2 separate regions of the Homo sapiens genome follow, and region 1 is linked to region 2. Evidence: promoter capture Hi-C in 16 types of primary human blood cells and fetal thymus (Javierre and others, 2016). All regions are on one chromosome and are shown on one strand. The core of a region is centred on a gene start or on the middle of the fragment in contact, and the rest is flanking DNA. Distances in the headings are between cores, read along the strand shown. Region 1 has its middle 41 kb from the start of SYTL4. Region 2 holds the start of SYTL4 (synaptotagmin like 4).

Region 1 (6,363 bases), core at 1,574-4,073, 41 kb after region 2:
CATTGCTTTTGGTGTTTTAGTCATGAAGTTTTTGCCCATGCCTATGTCCTGAATGGTATTGCCTAGGTTTTCTTCTAGGGTTTTTATGGTTTTGGGTTTTAAATTTAAGTCTTTCATCCACCTTGAGTTAATTTTTGTATAAGGTGTAAGGAAGGGGTCCAGTTTGTTTTCAGCATATGGCTAGCCAGTTTTCCCAGCACCATTTATTAAATAGGGAATCATTTCCCCATTGCTTGTTTTTGTCAGGTTTGTCAAAATCAGATGGTTGTAGATGTGTGGTGTTACTTCTGGGGCCTCTGTTCTGTTCCATTGGTCTATATATCTATTTTGGTACCACTACCATGCTGTTTTGGTTACTGTACCCTTGTATTATAGTTTGAAGTCAGGCAGTGTGATGCCTCCAGCTTTGTTCTTTTTGCTTGTCTTTGCTATACGGGCTCTTTTTTGGTTCCATATGAAATTTAAAGTAATTTTTTCTAATTCTGCGAAGAAAGTCAATGGTAGCTTGATGAGAATATCATTGAATGTATAAATTACTTTGGGCAGTGTGGCCATTTTTACGATATTTATTCTTCCTACCCATGACCATGGAATGTTTTTCCATTTGTTTGTGTCCTCCCTTATTTCCTTGAGCAGTGGTTTGTAGTTCTCCTTGAAGAGGTCCTTCATGTCCCCTGTAAGTTGTATTCCTAGCTATTTTATTCTCTTTGTAGCAATTGTGAATGGGAATTCACTCATGATTTGGCTCTCTGCTTGTCTATTATTGGTGTTTAGGAATGCTTGTGATCTTTGCACATCAATTTTGTATCTTGAGAATTTGCTGAAGTTGCTTATTAGCTTAAGGAGTTTTGGGGCTGAGATTATGGGGTTTTCTAAGTACACAACCATGTCATCTGCAAATAGAGACAATTTGACTTCCTCTCTTCCTATTTGAATATCCTTTATTTCTCTCTCTTGCCTGATTGCCCTGGCCAGAACGTCAAATACTACGTTGAATAGGAGTGGTGAGAGAGGGCATCCTTGTCTTCTGCCGGTTTTTAAAGGGAATGCTTCCAGCTGTTGCCCATTCAGTATGTTATTGGCTATGGGTTTGTCATAAATAGCTCTTATTATTTTGAGATATTTTATATATTATTTGAGATATTTTGAATCCTACTGAATTCATTTATCGGTTCTAAGAGTGTTTTGGACGAGTCTTTGGGGTTTTCAAAATATAAGATCATGTTATCTGCAAACAGGGACAATTTGACTTCCTCCTTTCCAATTTGGATGCCCTTTATTTCTTTCTCCTGCCTAATTGCTCTGGCTAAGACTTCCAGCACTATGTTGAATAAAAGTGGTGAAACTAGGCTTCCTTGTCTTTGTCCAGATCTTAAAAAAAAATGCTTTCAACTTTTCCTTATTCAGTTTGATGTTAGCTGTGGGTTCATCATATATGGTCTTTATTGTTTTGAGGTATGTTTTTCTCTATACCTAATTTGTTGATAGTTTTTACCATGAAGAGATGTTGAATTTTATTAAATGTTTTTCTGCATGTGTTGAGATGATTACATGGTTTTTGTCCTTCATTCTGTTGATATGATATATCACATTTATTGATTTGCATATGTTCAACCAGCCTTCCATTCCTGGGATAAATTCTGCTTGATCATGTTGTATAATCTTTTTGATGTGCTGTGGAATGTGGTTTACTAACATTTTGTTGAGCATTTCTCATCTATGTTCATCAGGGCTATTTGCCTGTAGTTTTCTTTTTTTGTTGTTGTGTCCTTGTCTAGTTTTGGTATCAGAGTAATGCTGGCTCTGTAGAATGAGTAGAAAGAATTCCTTCCTCTTCCATTGTTTGGAATAGTTTGAGGATAAATTATGTTTGTTCTTCTTTAAAACTTTGGTATAACTCAGCAGTGAAGCCATCCAGTCCTAGACTTTTCTTTATTGGGAGACTTTGTATTACTGATTCAGTCTAATTACTTGTTATCAGCCTGTTCATGTTTTCTATTTTTTTCAATCTTGGTGGGTTATATGTGACCAGGAATTAATCCATTTTCTCTAGGTTTTCCAATTTGTTAGTGTATTGTTGTTCATAATATTCTCTAATGATAATTCATATTTCTGTTTTATCACTTGTAATGTCTTCTTTTTTATTTCTGATTTTATTTCTTTGGGTCTTCTCTTTTTCTTTCTTAGTTTAACTAGTAGTTTTTTTTTTAATTTTATCTTTTCATAAAACCAACCTTTTGTTTTCTTGATCTTTTGTATTGTTTTTCTAGTCTCTATTTTGTTTATTTCTGCTCTGACATTTCTTATTCATTTCCTTCTACTAATTTTGGGTTTGGCTTGTTCTTGTTTTTCTAGTTCCCTGAAGTGCATCATTAGGTTGTTTATTTGAAATCTTCTACTTCTTTGACATAGGCATTTATTACTACAAACTTCCTTCTTAGTACTGCTTTTTCTGTATCCCATAGGTTTGGTATGGTGGGTTTCCATTTTCATTTCTTTCAAGAAATTTTAAAAATTTTCTTCTTAATTTCTCCCTTTAGCCATTGGTTGTCCAAAGGCATGTTTAATTTCCATGTATTTGTACAGTTTCCAAAGTTCCTCTTGTTATTGATTCCTAGTTTTATTCTACTATGGTCAGAAAGGATAATTGATATGATTTCAATGTTTTAAATTTTTTGAGACTTGTTTTATGACCTAGCCCATATGGTCCAACCTGAAGAATATTCTATGTGCTGATGACAAGAATGTGTATTTTGAAATTGTTTGATGAAATGCTCTGTAAATGTCAGTTAGGTCCACCTGGTCTAGAGTGTAGTTTAGCTCTGATTTTTTTGCTGATGTTTCTGTCTGGACAATCTGTCCATTGCTGAAAGTGGTCTGTTAAAAGTCCGCTAGTATTATTATATTGTAGTCTATCTCTACCTTTAGATCCATCAATATTTGCTATACATATTTGGGTGTTCAGGTGTTAGGTGCATATATATTTACAATTGTTATATACTCTTGCTGAATTGACCTATTTATCTTCATACGATGACTTTGTCTCTTTTTGCTGTTTTTGACTTAAAGTCTGTTTTATCTGATATAAATATAGCTACTCCTGCTCTCTTTTAATTTACATTTGCAGGAAGTATCCTCTTTTCATCCCTTCACTTTCAGTCTATGTGTGTCCTTACATATGAGGTGAGCCTCTTGTTGGACACATATATACAGGTCTTGTTTTTTTATCATCCAGTCATTGTATGTCTTTTAATTGAAGAATTTAATTCGTATACATTCAAGATTATTATTGATAGGTATGAACTTACTCTTGCCATTTTGTTCATTGTTTTCTAGAGGTTTTTTTTTTCAACTTTTTAGAGTCGGGGTACATGTACATATTTGTTACAAATGTATATTGCATGATGCTGAGGTTTGGGGTATGACTGAACCTATCACCCAGGTAGTGAGCATAGTACCCAATAGGTAGTTTTTCAGCCCTTTCCCCTCCTCCACCTGCTAGTAGTCACTAGTTTTGTTGCCATCTTTATGACCATGAGTAACTGATGTTTAGCTCCCGCTTGTAAGTGAGAACATGCAGTGTACGGTTTTCTGTTTCTGCATTAGTTCCCTTAGGATAATGGCCTCCAGCTGCATCCACGTTGCTGCAAAGGACATGATTTCATTTTTCCTTATGGCTGCATAGTATTCCATGGTGTCTGCATACCACATTTTCTTTATCCAGTCCACTGTTGATGGGTACCTGGGTTGATTCCATGTTTTTGCTATTATGAATAGCACTGTGATGAACATATGGATGCACGTGTCATCTTGGTAGAACAATTTATTTTTGTTTGGGTGTATACCGAGTAATGGGATTGCTGGGTCGAATGGTAGTTCAACTCTTAGTTCTTTGAGAAATCTCCAAACTGCTCTCCACAGTGTCTGGACTAATTTTTACATTTCCACCAGCCATATACAGGTGTCCCCTTTTTGCTGCAGCCTCACCAATATCTGTTTTTGTCTTCTACTTTTTAACAAAAGCCATTCTTACTGGTGTGAGATGGTATTTCCTTGTGGTTTTGACTTGCATTTCTCTGATGATTAGAGATTATGAGCATTTTTCATGTTTGTGGGTCACTTGTATGTCTTCTTTTGAGAAGTGTCTGTTCATGTCCTTTGCCCACTTTTCAATGAGGTTATTTGCTTTTTGCTTGTTGATTTAAGTTCCCTATAGATTCTGGATATTTCTAGTTGTTTTATAGATCTTTTGCTCCCTTCCTTTTCCCTTGCTTTCTTTCTTAGTTGTTTGATGGCTTTCTGTAGTGGTATACCTTGGGTCTTTTCTTTTTCTCTTTTGTATTTGTATTGTAGGCTTTTGCTTTGTGGTTACCCTGAGGTTTACACAAAACATCTTATACAGCCAGGCACAGTGGTGCATGCCTGTAATTCTAGCTACTTGGGAGGCTGAGACAGGAGGATCACTTGACCCCAGGAGTTCAAGGCTATAGTACACCATGATCATGCCTCTGAATAGCCACTGCACTCCAGCCTGGGCAACATAGTAAGACCCCATCTCTTAAAAATTTTTTTTTAATTAGCTGGCCATCAAATGCCCATCAATCAACAAGTGGATAAAGAAATTGTGGTGTGTGTGTATATATATATATGTATACACAATATATATATACACATATATATACATGTATATGATGGAATACTACTCAGCCATAAAAAGGAATGAACTAATAGCATTCACAGCAACCTGGATGGGATTGCAGACTATTATTCTAAGTGAAGCAACTCAACAATGGAAAACCAAACATCATATGTTCTTACTTATAAGTGGGAGCTAAGCTATGAGGATGCAAAGGCAGAAGAATGATACAATGGACTTTGGGGACTCAGGGGAAAAGGGTGAGAAGGGGGTGAGGGATAAAAGGCTACAATTGGGTTCAGTGTATACTGCTCAGGTAAAATGGGTACACCAAAATCTCACAAATCACCACTAAAGAACTTACTCATGTAACCAAATAGCACCTGTTCCCCAAAAACCTATGGAAATGAAAAATATAAAATTTTTAAAGTTAAAAATAAATAAATAAAATAAAAATTAGCTGGGCATGATGGCACACACCTGTGGTCCCAGCTACTTGAAAGGCTGAAGTGGGAGGATCACTTGAGCCCAGGAGTTCAAGCCAGCAGTGAGCCATGATCATGCCGCTGCACTCCAGCCTGGGTGATAAAGCAAGACCCAGTCTCAAAAATTAAATTAAATTAAAATTTAAAAAATAAAAACATCTTATACTCATAACAGATTAATTTATCCAATAATAACTTAATTTTGATTGCATACACAATACCTCCACTTTTACTCCACCTCCTCCCATGTTTTGTTTTTGATGTTACACTTTTATATCATCTTATAACATGTATCCCTTAGCAAATTATTGTAGCTTTAGTTGTTTTTAATGGTTTTCCCTTTTGAACTTTATACTAGAAATATAATTGATTTACCTACTGCTGTTACAGTATTAGAGGGTTTTGTATTTGTCAATGTACTTACTTTTACCAGTGAGTTTTATACTTTCATATGATTTAGTTACTAATTAGCATCCTCTTCCTTCAGGTGAAGAAGTTCATTTAGTTTTTGTAATGCAGGTCTAATGGTAATAAAGTCTCCCAACTTTTGTTTTTCTGAGAAAGTCTTAATCACCCCTTCATTTTTTGAAAGACAGTGTTGCTGCGTATAGTTTTCTTGATTGGTGGTCTTTTTCTTTCAGGGTTTTGTCTATATCATCCCACTCTCTTATAGCTTGCAAGGTTTCTGCTGAGAAGTCTATTTATATTCTTATGGAGGTTCCCCTATGATAATTTGCTTTTCCCTTGCTGCTTTCAATACTCTCTCAGTCTTTTAACTTTTAACAATTTGACTATGATGTGTCCTGGTGTGGATCTCCTTAGGTTCATCTTATTTGGTGTGCTATGGACTTCCTGGATCTGGCTTTCCAATTTCTTCCTGGACTTGGGAAGTTTTCTACCATTATTTCTTTGTATATGTTTTCTCTCCCTTTCTCTCTTTTTTCTACTTCTGGCTCTGACTCTGGCTATCAATTATGTGTAAGTTATTTTGCTTGATGGTATCCCATACGTCACTTAAGTTATCTTCACTCTTTGTCATTTTTTTCTTTTTGTTCCTCAGATTGAATGATTTCCAGTGTTCCGTCTCCAAGTTCACTGATTCTTTTGACTGCTTGATCTATTCTGTTGTTGAATCCCACTACTGAATTTTTCAGTTCAGTTATAATATTCTTCTGATCTATGATTTCCATTTGGTTCTTTGTAATACTTTCTATCTCTTTAAGTTATCATCTTGTTCTTCCA
Region 2 (6,583 bases), core at 2,750-5,249:
CCAGGTCACTGCAATGTTCAAAGGCTGGGGAGACAAATTTAGTAGAAAAAGAAGCTGGTCAGCTTTTTGTACAAATTTGAGTTTCAAATAAGTTAACATATATTAAATGATGAGAATCACATATTTACCACCTTTTGAAGGGCCCAACTCCTTCCAAGTCTGTCTTCTAAGAGATTCTGGCCTCTTCCTTTCTGAACATTTCAAAACACTTTTAAACAGAATAGCACTTTTTTCTTTTATGTTACACAGTGGTTTCTCCAGACTGCACAGTCATCCTGGTAGAAAACTAGTTAAGTACAACACAAATAGCACTCAGCTACGGCTTTTCCATAAAGTTCCATAATCCAATAACCACCTCATACCTAAAAGGCTATGGGTAACTTGAAACCAGAAGCCTAATTTGTGCCATCCGTTATTCTTTTGAGCTGTTCACTTCCCCATTGCACAGTAACTTTCTCCAGCCTCTTATTGATCTTGCGAGAAGCCTGAAAAGCCTCAAGACATCTGACAATCCACACCCCTTCCTCCCAGTGCAGTCCCCCTTCCTACCAACAAGAAGCACAACATTTTTACATTTCCACTTTTAAACTTTAGAGATTTCCACCCAGAGACTCATACTTTTAAAAAATAGAGAGGCCAGGAGCGGTGGCTCACGCCTGTAATCCCAGCACTTTGGGAGGCCGAGGAGGGCAGATCACGAGGTCAGAAGATCGAGACCATCCTGGCTAACACGGTGAAATCCCGTCTCTACTAAAAACACAAAAAGCTAGCCGGGCATGGTGGCGGGCGCCTGTAGTTCCAGCTACTCGGGAGGCTGAGGCAGGAGAATGGCATGAACCCAGGAGGCAGAGCTTGCAGTGAGCCAAGATCGCGCCACTGTACTCTAGCCTGGGCGACACAGCGAAACTCTGCCTCAAAAAAAAAAAAAAGTAAGAGAGAGGAAGTACTTCCAACTAGGTCAAAGTTGGCATCAGGAATGCAATCTCAAAGCAAAAATCAGCAGAAGTAAAGCTGAGTTTTGGGCCTGGGGCAAACTTACACCTGTAGGGCGACAAACTGGGTAGGCTTAGTTTCAGGTCCAGGAGTGCCTAACTCCAAGAGTGCCAAATTCCTAGAATGGCAATGCCATTAATTCATTAACAAATATTAGTATGCACCTATGATGTACCAAGGACTGTTCTGGGTCCAAGAGTCTACTGGTGAATACAACAGACAGCAATCCCTGCCCACAGGGTGTTTATGTTATGGTGGGTGAGGGAGTGGGAGGGCAGACAATAAGCAAGAACAATGTAATAAGGTAGGGAAAGGGCATATGGAATGTTCAGGGAAGGGATTACACGTTTAAATAGGGTGGTCAGGGCAAATTCCTAGCTGTGGTATTTCAAGTGCCTCAGGAAGGTGTCTTCTGTACCTCAACCCCACCATCACTACACCTCAGCCCCTTGAAGGAATGGCATGGTATGTCCGGTTACTGGCACAAATATTTGCCAACATCTTATATTTAAGACAAAGGGAGCTCCGAGATCCAGACCTTGCCCTTAGAGAACTTACAGCCTTCCAGGTGGAAAAACAACTAAGCAGTGTTAAGGGCTTTACTGAGGTGTAAACAAAGTGCTTTAGGACACAGGATAACTGGCAATTCTGCTTGGGGGAAGAAGTATGTGTTCAGTAAGGCCGTTCCAAAGGAGGTGACTTTAGAACTCAATCTTGAGGGATGGATAGGAATTAATGTCAGGGGAGGGGGAATGAGGGAGGAAAGTTAGCTTTTTAGGAAGAAAAAAAGGAACAGTTTGAGCAAAGTCCCAGAGATGGGAATAGGGAGGACATTTTCTTCCTATCCTTGTCTATGGTACTCCATCCATCCCATGACAAAACTAGCACACGATCACCCTCAGGCTCTCTGGTATGGCTGTCAGGAAATCCATATCACTTACCACTCCCTCATTTCTCCCCTAGCCAGCAGGAGAGGAAGAAGTTGAGTCAGGCACACATCCCTAGAATCCAGGGTTACCCTCCCCTAACTTCAGGACAATTACCACAGAGCTGAAAACCCGGGAGATTTCATTCATCTAATTACACTCAGGGATGTGTACTTATAGTGGTAACGTGGCAACTGGCCCATGTTGGAAATGAAGTGGGTAAGACATCAGTAAGGTAAGTAGTCCATAGTCTCGGCAGTGCATCTAAGGTGGAAGCAAGGAGAAAAACATATACTTGGGCTTGGAAGACAATTTTTTAATCACTTAGTCCTCATCCATGAGCTATTCAGTGTTCCCAACATCTAAGACAACAGAGGTGGTGTGACAGGATAGGAACACAAGCTCTGCCTCCGAGATTTTGAGGGCAAGGCACTTAACTTCTCAGTCTCTTTTTCATCATAATATGGTTATAACTGTAGCACCTACTGTATAGAGTTATTGTGAGGATTGCATTTTTATGTAAAGAACTTATCACAGTGTCCAGCTCAATGGAGCCTAACAACCAGAGCCTAACAAGCTCAGAGAGCCAGAATGCTACATATACTCACAGATCAATTACCCCAGAACAGGCCTCCAGCTCCATTTCACTGCTCTGACCAAGAGTGAGACACCTGAAATTGTGTTACCAGAAATGTTCATCCTCTGCCCAAAAAGGGCCTCACAAGCCAAGTTGGTGGTGCTTTTCTACTAGGGTGCTAAAAACCAAACAACCAAAAACGCAGAAAACTTCATCAAGGCCACGTCTCTGCATTAAACATTGTTCCCACAGCGACAAAAGTCTTAAGTCATTAATACCTCAATATTAATAGATTTATGAGAGGTGGGGGTGGGGAGCTTAAAGAGCAGAAAATAAGCCAGTTAAATATAGGAGGTCCAGGATGTACAGAAGACTCATTTTTGCCACAAATATACAAGGTCTAGGGTCAACCCTGCCAAGCACAGTACTCTGGAATTTTACGTCCTCTAATCCTGAAGAAGCAGGGTACTGGGGGAAGAAAAGCTTGATTAGAAAGTCACCACTTTTCAAGCCACCAGAATTCTAACCAAATGATTTCACCACCCCAAATCCCACCTCATTCAATGTTAAGGGTTGGAGGAACACCTTTTTCTGCCCCATTACAAACCAACACAGGAGACAGAAGCATTCTGTGCCCCTTCTGAGATCTCGGGGACCCTCCTCCAGTACCAGATCTCTCACAGCCTGCTTGAAGAGCGGCAATATAAAGCAGCTCCACAGCACACAGCCAGGTCCCCAGCCCCAAGCGCAGAGGGAGCCCACTGAGGCAGGACTCCAGCCAACCAGCCTCCAGCCTTTACCTGTGGCTGACTGGCCAACGCCAGAGAAGCCGCGATGTCGTAGGTCCGAAGAGAGTGCGGGTTAGCGACCCCGCTCGACGGCCGAGCGCTGTGAGAGGAACCCACGAAAAGGTGACTGGACGCCTTGGAGGGCGCAGTTCCCGCTAGGAGCTCGGCCCCGCCCCCGCCCCCAGGGCCAGCTCTCGGGAGGGGCACCAGCTCGGGCTGGCGGGAAAAAGCCCGGGCACTCCCCGCGAGGGGAGCCGAAGAGGAGAGGGGAGGCGGCTCCCAGAGGGGCACAGACCGCATTAGTGCTGGGTGGGTCAGGGAAGGGGCCAGAAGAAGCCCTGGAGAAAGAAAAGTGGCCGGGAGGGACCGCCCAAGCAGACGGGAGTCCAAGCCTGGGGATGCGGTCGGGAGAGGCGGACGGGGAGAGGGGAGACGCGGTCAGCTAGGGAGAAGGAAAAATTGGGGGACCAGAGAGCGGGTAGGGAAGACGCACGACCCCGAGATGGGGGTGGGGGCGCTTCAGCAGCGAAAAGGAGCTGGGGGTCCAGAAGGAGCACCGGACCGAGGGCGAGGGGCCGGCCGCTGGCTGTTGACCTACCTGTCACTTGCAACAGGTGCCTCCAGAGATCGAGAAGTCCCAGTGCCGGTTTCAAGGGAGGGTCTCCGGCTCCGGGAAGATCGCAACCCAGCTCCGGCAGCCGGCCCTTCTCACCCTCCCGGGAGGCGGAAAAAGCTGCAACTTTCCCTGGAGCGGGGAGGAGCTGGACTCTTAAAGGGGCCGCACAGCGCCCCGGGCTCCTTAGCAGGGGGCCACTCAGCCCAAAAGGGAGCTCTGGGACCCAAAGCCTTGAGACACAAGAGGAATGTCCTTCCAGGTTAGGAATGGGAGCCTGGGGACTGAGGATAGGGGTCTAACACTAGACGTGCCTCCTCACCCACTTACTTCCATCTGTTGGTCACTCTCTTAGACGGTGAAATCACCTGTCTCTTTCGTTCAGCTGAGTCAAAAGTTGTCAAATTGTCTCACACTTCTAAGAAGATAAAAGAGTATGAACTATCTAATTTGAGTAAATAAAATATAATACCATTCTGATCCTTTGACTTGTGGCCTTTTATGGCAAATAAATGTCTGTCTAAAATAGAAACGTTTTGGGCAAAAGCGTAGACTAAATTCATACATACACACTCAAGGACACAACTGGTTAAAATATCCAACTCACTAGTAATCAAAGAAAAGCAAATTAGAACAATAATGAGATTCTTTGGCAAAGATATTTTTTATTTTTTAATAACACTTAATGATGACAAAGTAGCCACCAAACAAGCTGTCTTAATTGCTGATAGCAGCATATGTTGGTTAAAAACCCTTTTAGAAAGCACGTGAGCAATATGTATCAATAGACTTGAAAATGTTTATACCTACCCAGTAATTGCAGATTCCTCTCCCTGCCTCTCCCATCCCTCTCCCCCTCATTTCACATCAGCAATTAAACATGCTCAAGTATCTACCATCTTAAAAAAAGAACCTCCCTACACAGGAGGTCCCTCTTCAGGTCCTCTTTATGGGCAAATGTATTGAAAATGTACTTCACAGGTGAAATTGCAATTTTTATTCCCTTACTTCTCATTCATTTCTTAGCTCTCAGCAGTCTGGCTTCCTTCCCCCACTGAAACTTCTCAATGAGATACACAAACAATGACCCTCAGTGTCAATAAATCCATAAATAAGTAAGGTATTTTTGGTCCTTATTTTGCTTGACTTCTCCCCTACATTTAACACCGTTAACCATTTCCTCGTCCTTGAAACTTTCTATGGCATCTATGACATTTTACTCTTTTGCTTTTCCTCCTACTCCTTTGCCCTCTCCTCAGTGACCTTTGTAGGCCACTCTTCTGCTATCTGACCTCTGAAAGTCAGACATTCTCAGGGCTAGGATACATATACTCCCTCCCCCAAATAATCTTTTTCACTCACTTGGCTTTAATTACCATATATATGGTCACAACTCTAATTCTATAACTCTACCCAGACTGCTTTATTGAGTTCTGTGTTCTTGACATCTCCACTTGAATGTCCTGCAGACACCTCAAATTCAACACATCCAAAGTTAAACCTACCATCTTTTCTCTTAAATTTGTTCCTCCTCCAGTATTTCTTATATCAGTAAATGACAACATGCCACTCAAGGCAATGGATTCACCATTCTAGATGCCATTAAGAACATTCATGATTCAACGGAGAAGGGCAAAATATCAACATTAACAGGAGTTTGGAAGAAGTTGATTCCAACCCTCATGGATGACTTTGAAGGGTTCAAGACTTCAGTGGAGGAAGTCACTACACATGTGGTAGAAATAGCAAGAGAACTAGAATTAGAAGTTGAACCCAGAGGCCAGGCACAGTGGCTCACGCCTGTAATCCTAGCACTTTGGGAGGCCGAGGCGGGCAGATCACGAGGTCAGAAGATCGAAACCATCCTGGCTAACACGGTGAAACCCCGTCTCTACTAAAAATACAAAAAGTTAGCCAGGCGTGGTGGCGGCCGCCTGTAGTCCCAGCTACTCGGGAGGCTGAGGCAGGAGAATGGCGTGAACCCAGGAGGTGAAGCTTGCAGTGAGCCGAGATCCTGCCACTGCACCCCAACCTGGGTGACAGAGCGAGACTCCATCTCAAAAAAAAAAAAAGTGGAACCCAGAGATGTGACTGAATTGCTGCAATCTCATGATAAAACTTGACTGACCAAGGAGTTGCTTCCTGTGTGAACCAAGAAAGTGATTTCTTGAGATGGAATCTACTCCTGGTGAAGATGATGTGAACTCTGTTGAAACAACAGCAAAGGATTTAGAGGCCAGGCACGGTGGCTCACGCCTGTAATCCCAGCACTTTGGGAGGCCGAGGAGGGCGGATCACGAGGTCAGGAGATTGAGACCATCCTGGCTAACACGGTGAAACTCCGTCTCTACTAAAAATACAAAACATTACCAGGCATGGTGGCCAGCACCTGTAGTCCCAGCTACTCGGGAGGCTGAGGCAGGAGAATATAGCGTGAACCCGGGAGGCGGAACTTGCAGTGAGCCGAGATCCCGCCACTGCACTCCAGCCTGGGTGACAGAGTGAGACTCCGTCGCAAAAAAAAAAAAAAAAGGATTTAGAATGTGACATAAACTTAGTTGATAAAGCAGCAGCAGGGTTTGAGAGGATTGACTCCAATTTTGGAAGAAGTTCTACTGTGTGTAAAATGGAATCAAACAGCATCGCATGCTACAGAGAAATCTTTTGTGAAAGGAAGAGTCAATCA

The links. The method cuts DNA at HindIII sites, captures the fragments that hold promoters and counts their contacts. A CHiCAGO score of 5 or more calls a contact.
Region 1: a contact is called between a fragment that was not itself captured here and the fragment with the promoter of SYTL4 in region 2, in 1 of 17 cell types (megakaryocytes). The highest score is 9.1, in megakaryocytes.

Annotation. Positions count from the first base shown.
Region 1 is chrX:100,770,337-100,776,699 of GRCh38, forward strand. No RefSeq gene overlaps it. Among named protein-coding and RNA genes, the nearest start is that of SYTL4, 41 kb to the left of the region's middle. The HindIII fragment of the contact is 8,719 bases long and covers 1-6,363 here.
Region 2 is chrX:100,728,122-100,734,704 of GRCh38, forward strand. It overlaps SYTL4 (synaptotagmin like 4), which reads right to left and starts at 4,000. Exons shown (of 20, transcript NM_001370165.1): 1 at 3,883-4,000; 2 at 3,297-3,384. The HindIII fragment of the contact is 2,913 bases long and covers 2,978-5,890 here.